Regions from separate parts of the Homo sapiens genome. Here all the other regions are linked to region 1. Evidence: promoter capture Hi-C in 16 types of primary human blood cells and fetal thymus (Javierre and others, 2016). All regions are on one chromosome and are shown on one strand. The core of a region is centred on a gene start or on the middle of the fragment in contact, and the rest is flanking DNA. Distances in the headings are between cores, read along the strand shown. Region 1 holds the start of MRPL33 (mitochondrial ribosomal protein L33). Region 2 overlaps BABAM2 (BRISC and BRCA1 A complex member 2). Region 3 overlaps BABAM2 (BRISC and BRCA1 A complex member 2).

What was found. Contacts are between HindIII fragments. The CHiCAGO score rates a contact against its expected background, and 5 or more counts as called.
Region 2: a fragment that was not itself captured here is called in contact with the fragment with the promoter of MRPL33 in region 1 in 1 of 17 cell types (activated CD4 T cells); the score reaches 5.4 in activated CD4 T cells.
Region 3: a fragment that was not itself captured here is called in contact with the fragment with the promoter of MRPL33 in region 1 in 1 of 17 cell types (M1 macrophages); the score reaches 5.4 in M1 macrophages.

What each region holds. Positions count from the first base shown.
Region 1 is chr2:27,769,023-27,773,014 of GRCh38, reverse strand. MRPL33 (mitochondrial ribosomal protein L33) reads right to left here and starts at 1,296. Exons shown (of 4, transcript NM_004891.4): 1 at 1,216-1,296; 2 at 323-341. The coding sequence starts at 1,237. RefSeq lists enhancers at 1,115-1,244, 485-1,301, 1,535-1,654. The HindIII fragment of the contact is 2,472 bases long and covers 683-3,154 here.
Region 2 is chr2:28,038,055-28,041,729 of GRCh38, reverse strand. The region is part of intron 5 of BABAM2 (BRISC and BRCA1 A complex member 2); the gene reads right to left. Among named protein-coding and RNA genes, the nearest start is that of MIR4263, 44 kb to the right of the region's middle. The HindIII fragment of the contact is 154 bases long and covers 1,987-2,140 here.
Region 3 is chr2:28,265,827-28,269,863 of GRCh38, reverse strand. The region is part of intron 10 of BABAM2 (BRISC and BRCA1 A complex member 2); the gene reads right to left. It overlaps LOC124907745 (a long non-coding RNA gene), which reads left to right. Exons shown (of 2, transcript XR_007086254.1): 1 at 1-479; 2 at 963-1,298. Among named protein-coding and RNA genes, the nearest start is that of BABAM2-AS2, 43 kb to the left of the region's middle. The HindIII fragment of the contact is 8,369 bases long and covers 1-4,037 here.

The sequences.
Region 1 (3,992 bases), core at 47-2,546:
AAATATGGTGGTAGTCCAAATACAGCACAGCCCAATGGTTTGTTTAGAAACAGACAGTGAGCTCACAAATCCTGGGACTAGAAAAGCAGCAAAGGTTCCTTCAAGTATTTCAATGCTCACAGAAGTAGCTCAGTTCAGCAGGAGGGAAAATATTTTTGAAAGAGTTCATAAAGAAAAAATAATCAACTAAGTAATCCACAAACCAACTCTTAGGAAATCAAGGCCCAATGCTTAATTTCATATAAGGATGTACTGGGAGCAGCTAGACTAACAAATCCAACATAAACAAGTGACGTTTAAAAAAGGAAAAATCTTTACTTACTTTGACTTGCTCTTGGCAACTTTTTTGTAGACAGGAAGGGTTGGAAAAGAAAATAAAAATATAAATGTATTCTCTTTCTTATGCAAAGTTCATATAAATATCAGTAATAACCAAAAATATTTAACTTATGAAATATGCCATGAGGTGTCACTCAAGTAACTATTCCCTATCTATTAGGGATCCCCTTAGGATTTTATAGAAGGAAGGTTAAAAGATCCAATCAGACCAACACAATTCTAGATTTAATATTTTGCATAATTTCATGACTGTTGGACTGGCTACCTTTTAAATCTTTCTAAAGTAATACCTGCTCCATTTTTTCCCTCTTCTAAGGTGCAAGTATTCGCGCTGCAGCAAGCTTCTTGTTTGACAAGTTTAACCTTTGCAAATTACAACAACCATCACATGTGGTGAAAACCAGATACTAAATCTAACTGGGAAGTCAGCCAAGGGTAAAGAAGAGCACTGACTCGGGAGCCCGAGGACTTCTTTAACTGCCCTGCCGCATTACTCAGGCAATTCATTGCCCCTCTCGGGAGCGGTTTCCTTATTTTTAGAGTTCGAAATAGGTGGGCTGCAAATTCTGAGGTCCTTCGGACAAAGATTCTCCTAACACGGGCTGGAGAAAAACGCCCCACAGCCAGACTCAACGGTCCGTGAGGACGGCAATTGAATCCAGACACCGCAGACCCCTTCTCAGGCACCCACAGGTCCGCGCAGGGAGGCGCGCCGCGGGGCATGCCGGACGCTGTGGTCCTGAAGGCCTGGAAAAGTACGCAGCTGCAGCTTCCCGTCCTGTTCGCACATCCTTCCCCGCATCATTCCGGGGCCCTGCCTGTCACGGCCCCCTAACCCTCGCCGTAACCCCTACCGGCGTCTCCAGCCCCACTTACAGAAGACCGCGGAGAGGAACATGGTGACCACACCTGGGCAGTCTCCGTCACCGGCCAAAAGGCCCCCAACCAACAACAACTGCTTCCGGGGCACGGCCCGGTTCTGGAAGAGGACATCCGGCAGTCGCCCGAGGCCACGCCCCCCGCCTGGAACCTGCCTCCAGTCGTCTGGCTCGTTCCTCGGTTTCTCAGAGCGAGTGTGTTTTGCTTTTGTCGTGCTGGAGGTTGGAATCCTCATCATTCTGGAAAGGGATTTACAGCTCAGGGTTCGCGCCCCGGCCCTGACTCCTATTTCTGGGTCAAGTGCTTTCAGCGTTAGGTGCTTTCCATATTTGTTTCACGAAATAATCGCAACCACCTGCATTAGACCCACAAGAACAACTGTGTATTGTACTTCGGCCGCTCCAGCGTATCAGCCCCTCGCATATTTTCTTAAAATGTTGCCTCCCCCGACCCAACTCCCTCTCCGCCTGGTTAAGCCTTACTCTCACTCTTCTGAGTCCCTTCGGCATTAAGAACCCCACCTTTCCTTAGTTATCCCAATCTCTAGGAGGGCAGGACCCTTTGCATCTCAAACTTCTGTATCCAAACACCTAGCACAGTTCCTGACATAGAAGCCAAATAACAGATTGAGAGCATTCACATCACGTGCCTAATATCACAGAACTACCAGGTGGCAGAGTAAGAATTTAAACCTAGATTTTATCTGACTCCAAAGACTCATGCCTTTCCCAGTAGACATTGGGACCTACCAGTTTGCAATCATTAATTTTTCATGGCTCTGTAAGGAACCTGGGCTCCTCTAACACCAAGGACCTCGTCAGTAACCTCATTTCGCAACTAATAATCAGGACTTTTGGATTTTTTTCCTAATCCGTGATTTGTATCTACATATGAAGTCTTACAGATGTGAAATAAGATTTAATCGCATGGCTCACGCCTGTAATCCCAGCCCTTTGGGAGGCTGAGGCAGGCAGATCACTTGAGGTCACGAGTTTGAGACCAGCCTGGCCAACGTCGCGGAATCCCGCCTGTACTAAAAATACAAAAATTAGCTGAACCCGGGAGGCGGAGGTTGCAGTGAGCCGAGATAGCGCCACTGCACTCCAGCCTGGGCGACAAAGTGAGACTCCGTCTCAAAAAAAAAAAAAAAAAAAAGTAATAAAACTGTTTTAAAGAAAATTCAGCTCTCTGTGCCATCACAAAGAAGATGAGGAGGAAAAAAATCAGCTCTCCATACAATACAATTCAATTTTTTAAATTAAGACCGTCCTTCTCCTTAGTACCTATAATACTTTTTTTCCTTCTAATCATTCTTGATATTTATCTTCCCATAACCGGACTCCAGCTACTGAGTACCTTCCAGGTGCCGAAATCCTTCCTTACCTTGCATTGGCAAAAAAGAGCTTCAGATGTTCAAGAGGATAAGGTTTCTTATATTTCCTTTAGAGGATTTATAAGAAAACACAAGACTGGAAGCCAAGGAACATGATTTCTAGTCCTTGTTCTGTCCCTTAGAAAGTCACTTTAACTTTAGCCCAGCCAAATAGCAGTTCTTAAACTCCATGCCCCTGCCCCCAACTCTATTCTCCTTACTCTTCTTTATGTTTTCCTACAGCACTTATTGCCATTAATAGTATTACTTGTGTACTTGTTGATTTCCCTATTGTCTTTGGCTACCAGAATGCTGGGCAACAGCAAAACCCTGTCTCTAAAAAAATTTTTTTAATTAAAAAAAAGAACTTCAGCTTATTCCCTCACTGCTGTATCCCTGGTTCCTACAACAATGCCTGCTACATCTATTAAATATCTATTGAATGAATGAATCTGAGGTGAGAGGCACCATACAAATGTCAATATTTATGTTTAAATAGCAAAAAAAAAAAAACTAACTTTAAGTATTGTCAATAGTTTCAGGATCCAGGAGAATGTATAAGCTTGCTTTTGAAAAGAGCCAGGTGCAGTGGGTCACTCCTGCAATCCCAGTATTTTGGGAGGCCGACGAGGGTAGATCACCTGAGGTCAGGAGTTTGAGACCAGCCTGGCCAACATGGCGAAACCCCATCTCTACTAAAAAATAACACAACTGGCCGGGCGCGGTGGCTCACACCTGTAATCCCAGCACTTTGGGAGGCCGAGGCAGGTGAATCACGAGGTCAGGAAATTGAGACCATCCTGGCTAACATGGTGAAACCCCATCTCTACTAAAAATACAAAAAAAAAAAAAAAAAAAAATTAGCCGGGTGTGGTGGCGGGTGCCTGTAGTCCCAGCTACTCGGGAGGCTGAGGCAGGAGAATGGCGTGAACCTGGGAGGTGTAGCCTGCAGTGAGCCAAGATCGCACCACTGCACTCCAGGCTGGGCGACTGAGCAAGACTCCGTCTCAAAAATAACTTAAAAAAAAAAATTAGCCAGATGTGGGCGCCTGTAATTCCAGCTACTCAGGATGCAGAGGCAGGAGAATTGCTTGAACCTGGGAGGCAGAGGTTGCATTGAGCCAAGGTAGCAGCACTGCACCCCAGCGTGGGCAACAGAGGGAGTCTCCATGTCAAGAGAGGAGAGGGGAGAGGGGAGAGGAAGAAAAGAGATAGCATATGAACTATTTCTTGAAATTCTTGAAGGAGTAGGCTGGAGGCAGTGACTCTCTAGCCTCAGGAGTTCATGTTGCATCCACCTGTTATTTATACCTAATATAGCTGGCAGTTGGTAAGTGTTAATTAAAATGTTTATTATAATACAGATGTAATTCATGATTTGGGGCTTTTTTCCTTGAATTTA
Region 2 (3,675 bases), core at 814-3,313, 270 kb before region 1:
AAAGAGGGTAAGAAACAAACCATGTGGAACTGAAGGAAAAACACCCCAGAGAACAAGTATAAAAAGGGTTGATGCAGGCGTGTGCCTGTGTTCAGGGGATGGCAAAAAGGTCGGGGTTACAGGAGCAAATAAGCACTAACACGGATCAAAGTCACCCAGAAACTCTCTCCTCCATGGTATGAGCAATTTCTAAACCCCTGGAGGATGTGCAACAATCATTCATAAAATTAGTGAATAAGAAAATGGCTACTACATCTATGTGGAACAACTGTGAAGTTATTCCTGGGGATGTTGAGGCAAGCTTTTAAAAAGTACCATGAGATTCAAAGAGTTTGGGGAAGGGAATTGGAGGGATGATGATAAACCAAACTCAAGTCATTTCTTCATTTTCAGTTTATAAAGCAAACCACCTACCAATAAATAAATAACCATTTCTGCCTACTAGTGTAAAATGTCAACCTGTAACCTGTAAATTAAAATGCAATTTGAAAACTTTTAAACTCAGAGGTGTGTATATATATATGCCTGATTTTACATATACATACATAAATAAACAACAACAAAAGTGAAATGTAGGATTTTAAAAGTTAAAATAACTCTTGTACATATAAGGTAATAGGAAAGATAATTACATATTTAGCACTTGGACTCATTTGAACTGCTAGTTATTTTAGTCCATGCACTGCATTTTAGCTCTTTTGCCCTATTTTAGCTTGTACAATGTATTTTTATTCTACCAGCTATTTTAGACCCACATTCTTTTAAAAACTCTTAGATGATCCCTACTTTATTCCTTCTCAAAATGTTGATCCTAGAATTAATACAAATTTGTGTTTATTGGCAACAGGCTGATTTACACAACTAATGTCATACTGAAAGAAATGTTGGTCCCAGGACTAATATAAATTTTTGTTTATCAGCAACAGGCTGATTTACACAACTAAATTCATAATAAAAGAAACAATACTATGAAGGGAATTTGGGAAACCATAAAAAGCACTTTATGATTGCCAACTTTCAAGCCTATCATACATTCCTTATTTTGCCATTGGAAGAACAAAGAAAACTCAGCACTTGTTTCTGACAGCACTGGAAATGTTGAACGCTAAGACTCAAGAATTCAGTTTTTCGGCCGGGCGCGGTGGCTCACGCCTGTAATCCCAGCACTTTGGGAGGCCGAGGCGGGCGGATCACGAGGTCAGGAGATCGAGACCATCCCGGCTAAAACGGTGAAACCCCGTCTCTACTAAAAATACAAAAAATTAGCCGGGCGTAGTGGCGGGCGCCTGTAGTCCCAGCTACTCTGGAGGCTGAGGCAGGAGAATGGCGTGAACCCGGGAGGCGGAGCTTGCAGTGAGCCGAGATCCCGCCACTGCACTCCAGCCTGGGCGACAGAGCGAGACTCCGTCTCAAAAAAAAAAAAAAAAAAAAAAAAGAATTCAGTTTTTCATTCTGGCACTGATTTTCCTTATGACCTATAAGCTAATCATCTTCTGTGAAACTGAGTACATGATAATTTTAAAACAATCTTAATGTAAAATTAAGTTATAAACTGTAAATGAAGAGCAAAACAAGTGAAAAATCCTTGTTCTACCTCAGATAATGACTTTTCATGTGGTTTTATATTTGAATTTCCAACAGCTATTCAAGCAATTTATGGTCACTCAGTTGTAATGTCAAAGATTGCTTTCACAGCAATCTTTCCTGTAAGCTGAAAATGAGACATTTAGATGCCGCCAAGTGAACAGAATAATTTGATTTTTTTTTTTTGTCAGTCCTTGGTCAAAATCTTCTCTTGGATAGATGCAGAAAATTATCTAACCTATGACTGTTAAAATGTCAGCCTTTCTGCCAACTGTCTTAATGGCAATTTCCCCAGCATTAGCAATAAATATGTGCATCTTTCCTTTTTTCAAGTTATAGTACGTTGGCAAGCAACTTAAACTAACAAGACTCTGAGTTTTGGCAATTTATTAAGTCTAAGCTTTGCTTTTGGTAATCACAGCTGTGACAGTTTTCTTCTCCTTTTAGAAGTGACAGGTAGACATTTTGTGCAGAATGGAGTCCAAGTTCAGGTTGTTCTGTAAGGGAAAATTTTACTTCCTTTCTTAGAGGCACTTCCCTTGTCAACAAACAAGCTTTTATCTGAAATTGACTGCTCTTACCACTTAGACAGCTAAAAGCTAAGAAACACTCAAGTGATTATAACTTTAGCTGGGTGACAAACTGGTAAGGCTGATTCTTCAAATGGACTCTGAAAACCAGTGAGCCTAAATCTGGAGATTGTTCCTTAGCACATGCATACATATACACTAAATGTGAAAAGGAAAGTCAAAGTTAGTCTAACTAGAATTTTATAATTTACAAAATGTTTTCTAAGATATGTCATTTAATTATCCCAAAACCCTGCTTGGTAGATACAATTCATTTATACTTAGAAATGAAAAAACTGAGGCCTAGAACAGTCAAGAAACTTGCCTACAGTTATTGAGAGAGTAACAAAGAGTCACAGAGCTCAACCTCAAGACTCAAGGTGTATTCATCCATTCACGAGTATGTATTAAGGGCCTAAAATGTGTCAGGCACTCCGCTAGGCATCTAGTGAGTAAAAGAGACAGGACCACTGCCCTTTTGGAGCTTATAGTCTAGTAGGTGAGTCAGATATCAATCAAAATAATCACTCCTATCAATTATAACCTGTGTGGAGAAATGGGAATACTTAAACACTGTTAGTGGGAATGTAAGTTAGTTCAGGCAGGTGGAAAGCAGTTTGAAGATTTCTCATAGAACTAAAAATAGAACTACCATTTGATCCAGCAATTCTACTACTGGGTACATACCCAAAGGAAAATAAATCGCTCTACCAAAAGGACACCTCCACTTATATGTTTATTATAGCACTGTTCACAATAACAAAGACATGGAAACTACCTAGGTGCCCATCAGTGGTGAACTGGATTTTTAAAATGTGGTACATATACACCATAGAATACAACACAGAAATTAAAAAAGAACAAAATCATGTCCTCTGCAGCAACATGGATATAGCTGGAGGTCATTATCCTAAGGAAATTAATGCAGAAACAGAAAACCATATACCACATGTTCTCACTTATAAGTGGGAGCTAAACACTGAGCACACACACACATAACGATGGGAACAACAGACACTGGGGACTCCAGAAGGAGGGAGGAAAGAAAGGGGACAAGAGCTGAAAAACTTCCTATTGAGTACTATGTTCACTATTTGGGTGGCAAGATCAATAGAAACCAAAACCTTAACATCACACAACATAACCCTGTAATAACCCTGTACGTGTACCCCCTGAATGTAAAATACAAAATAAATAAAATAAATTATAACCTGTGATAAATGCTATCAAAGGGCACAGTGCTCTGAGAGCAAATTCCAGGAGGAAATGAACCATCTAGGGTTGGGGGCTCATTACTTGGAGGGAATTTTTTTTAAAGCTAAGTCAAAAGACCACATGGAAAAATAAATAACACCAGGCAGGAAAAGTCTAAAGAAGAAAAGCAGTGAGAGGGAACTGTACATAAAGCATAATTTTTCTCTGGTTACTTAAGATTTTCTCTTTATGTCTGGTTATCAGTATTTTTACTATAATGTTTTGTTTTAGTTTTTCCTTGCATTTATCCCAGATGGGGTTTGTTGAG
Region 3 (4,037 bases), core at 970-3,469, 500 kb before region 1:
AAAAAAAAAAAAATGACAAGAAAAAATCCAAAATATCTCAAGATTATTTCTATTGAATAGCCTCAGTTTGTTTCTAATCTTTCCACAGCCCATGTTCACATCTGTGGCCTCCCTTTTATGGGCTCTGGAGCTGTAAATCTGAAAGAAGACAGATAAGGTAGAAACCTTGTTAAACAAAATCCTCATCAAAATGACAAACATTCAAACAGGAGTGGCCTGCCTTTATCTCCAGTTACCACCCAGTTTGGATGGAGTCTGTTTCCCTTTTACAAAAGGTTTGCTGTATGAGAAGGGAACATTTTACCCAAGAGACCGAAAGTCACTCCCAACTAGGTATTTCCCAAAGGAGTTGTACTGTATGTTCCAGAGTGCAGCTGCTGAGCTAACTATCTGGGTTGCAATAAAATGTCTTGATTTTTATCCATGGTTGGACAGATTGAGTTTTCTGATAACCCCAGTCCATTTCCCTAGAAATGCAGGTATGTATCCACATGCTGACTCATTCCGGGTGCAGAGAGCACAGAGTCTCTACAGAGGGTGGAGACTGCAAAGGCGAATACTTCCAAGATGGAGAGGAGAAGGGGGAAGGGAGAGAGCAAGAAAAAACAACCTAGAGGAGTGTTCTGGATTGACTATTTACAGACAGTTTGCCAGCAACAGATAAGGGATGGATCAGGGCTGGCAACCATTACTGGGGTGGTTTCTTTGGGTCTTTTAAGATAAAAGAGATTTGATATGTTTATTAAGTAATGTGGTTACCCTGGAAGCTGGGCATGTACTTCTCGTGATAACTGTATAGCAATTACTTCTGTTGGTTACAAGCCTCAGCTTTTGTTTGCTGAAATGTTAGATTTGGTTATATCTTTGTAGGTATGAGATACTTTTAAAGGGATAGTGTTTAGTAAATTTAGATATGTAAAACTTGCCTTTCATTGGCAAGGATCACAATAACAGCTTTGTAGGATTTCTCCGCAGACAAATAATCTCTACAGTGGACCTCAAGACTTCATACTAGGATTCTGAAGATGATTGAGTCAATGGATGAGTGTAACGAACTTTTGGAAACTTCAAGGCAATTAAAGGAAACTGCAGGAGGACCAGAAAAGATCAAGACCAGGGCACGAGGGCTGATCCAAACAACGGGGGCCGGCATTTGTGATCTTGGGTAGAGCCACCCCAGTGTGGGTCAACTCCACAGCATTAGGAAAACCAGTTTATCAGAATTACCTTCTCAAGCAATAGATCTGTTCCTTGTCACATTCTTAGAACTAATAAAGACTTATCTTTATTACTACTAATTATAATGTTTTGGTTCATTCTTTTAAAAATTATGCAATATGTGACACATACCAAAGAATACTTGTAATACACACTTAAGGTCTGAAACACAGCAGAAAAACAGAACATGACTGAATCTATGCTCCCTCTCAGAACAAAGACATGAGCCACAAGCTGAAGCGACCTTGCCATCCCTCTCTCTCCATTGTCTCCCTGCCTCTCTCTCCAGAGATAATCACTGTCCTAAAATGCCTGTTTATCACTCCTTCATTTTTGTTTGTTGTTTTTTAGAGACTGAGTCTTGATAGGCTAGACTCAATTTCTAGGCTCAACGTATCCTCTTGTCTCAGCCTCCCCAAGTAGCTGGGACTATAGGCATGTGCCACTGCGGCCAGGACACCTTCACTTTTTTAGAAACATGGCTTTAATGCAGATTTCTATATCCCTAATAAATAAATGGACAGATTGTCTGGTTTTGCTTGTTTTTGAGCTCTTTATATAAAAATTCTATCGTGTGTCTCCTGGAACTTGCTTTTTTCAGTCAATATTAGGGTTCTAAGATTTCGTCTTTATTGTGTATAGATACAGTTTGTCATTTTCACAGTTGTATAATAATGTAAATTTGACACTATTTATCCATTCCTCTGTCAGTGAACATTTGGGTTTTTGGGTTTCTTCTAGTTTCAACTACAACTAGAGATACTGCCATGATTATTCTTGAACATGTGCTCATCAACAATTTTTCCTTTTTCTCCTAGGCATACCCAAACAAATTTCCCAGCCTTCCTGCAGTGAGGTGGAGCCAAATGACTAAATTCTGTGTGTTGGAGAGATAAATGCCACTTCTGGGCCTGACCCCTATGGCCCCTGCCATGCTGGCCTGAAGAAGAGGGTGCAGTGGAGGATGCTGAGGCCATAGGGAATGGTGGAGCCATTAGACAGAGAAGCTGGTCCCAGAACTTCTGCAAGAAGCAGAGTCCTCCTTTCATCCATAATGACCACCACTGAATTGACAGCACAGGAAATAAAACGTTACTGTGTTAGCCACAGAGACTGGGGGTTGCTTGTTATAGGTGTTAGACTTTCCTGATAAAACCACCATTTCAAAATACATTAAAAGTGTGTGTGTGTGTGTGTGTGTGTGTGTATGTGTGTGTGTGTCTAGTCAGTGTAAATGAAGCAACAGCTGGGCCTGGGGGTGGGCTCTGCCTCCTGCATTTATGGGGGAGTGAGGGACTTGTGGAGATAAAAGCACCAGGAGGGATCCTCCTAGTGGAGTTGTTCTGCCTCTTGATTGTGTCAATGTCAGTATCCTATCCTGGTTGTTGATATTGTACTACAGTTGTTCAAGATGATACCACTGGGAGAAAGTGGGTGAAGGGTACATAGGATCTTTGTATTCTTTCTTTCTTTCTTTCCTTCTTTTTTGGAGACAGAGTTTCACTCTTGTCACCCAGGCTGGAGTGCAGTGGCACAATCTAGGCTCACTGCAACCTCCGCCTCCCAGGTTCAAGCAATTCTCCTGCCTTAGCCTCCCACGTAGCTGGGATTACAGGTGCCTGTCACCACACCCAGCTAATTTTTGTATTTTTAGTAGAAATGGGCTTTCACCATGTTGATCAGGCTGGTCTCGAATTCCTGATCTCAGCTGATCCACACGCCTTGGCCTCCCAAAATGCTGGGATTACAGGCGTGAGCCACTGCACCCAGCCTTTTGTACTATTTCTTACACCTACATGTGAATCCACAATTATCCCAAAATAAAAAGTTTTAACAACCATGAAAGACTTATATGGTAAATATGGAGAAGTATTAACAAAACTATGGAAGGCAGTTCCTCCTTTGTTTTTGGAAAACAGAAATAAAGTGGCATCAGGTACAGAGGACAGTCCTTAGACCCAGGCGTGTGACAATGCCAACCTTTTACCCTTGGTTTCCTTACCTTAAAAACAAGGACAATACCTGTCCTACCAACTTCATGGGGCTTGGGGAAGATCAAATTAAATAAGATGATAAATGGGAAAGTACTTTGAAATACTATAAGATCTTATCACTAACAATGAAGAGACATTTCTAATAACACTTTGGGAATGACAGAGGATACTATCAATCCACTTACATTTATGAATGAAGAAGAGCTGCAAAGCTGCAGGTGCTGAGCCTTTGAATTAACTCAGTGACCAAGATGGAGGGGAGGTTAAGAACTGCACATCCATGGCAATAAAATATCAAAAGCACTTGCTGCAGGTGCAGATAAGGTATGTAATATGCTACTTTTCAAGTCAGAAAGAAGAAAGGTGGCTGGGTACGGTGGCTCATGCTTGTAATCCCAACACTTTGGGAGGTCCAGGCAAGCAGATAATCTGAGGTCAGGTGTTTAAGGCCAGCCTGGCCAACATGGCGAAACCTCGTCTCTACTAAAAATACAAAAAACTTAGCCGAGCGTGGTGGTGTGTGCCTGTAATCCCAGTTACTTGGGAGGCTGAGGCATGAGAATCACTTGAATCCAGGAGGTGGAGGTTGCAGTGGGCCAAGATAGTGCCATTGCTCTCCAGCCTGGGCAACATAGTGAGTCCCCATCTCAAAAAAAAAAAGAAGAAAACTAAGAATATGTACTTATATTTATTTTATTTACATAAAGAAACTCTGAAAGGCCTAATTAAAAAAACTAACACAAGTGACGAGAAGAACAAGCCAGACTGGGAACAGGTGGGGATGGGACTTTGCCTATTGTGTATTTAAAAAATTAGGTGAATATA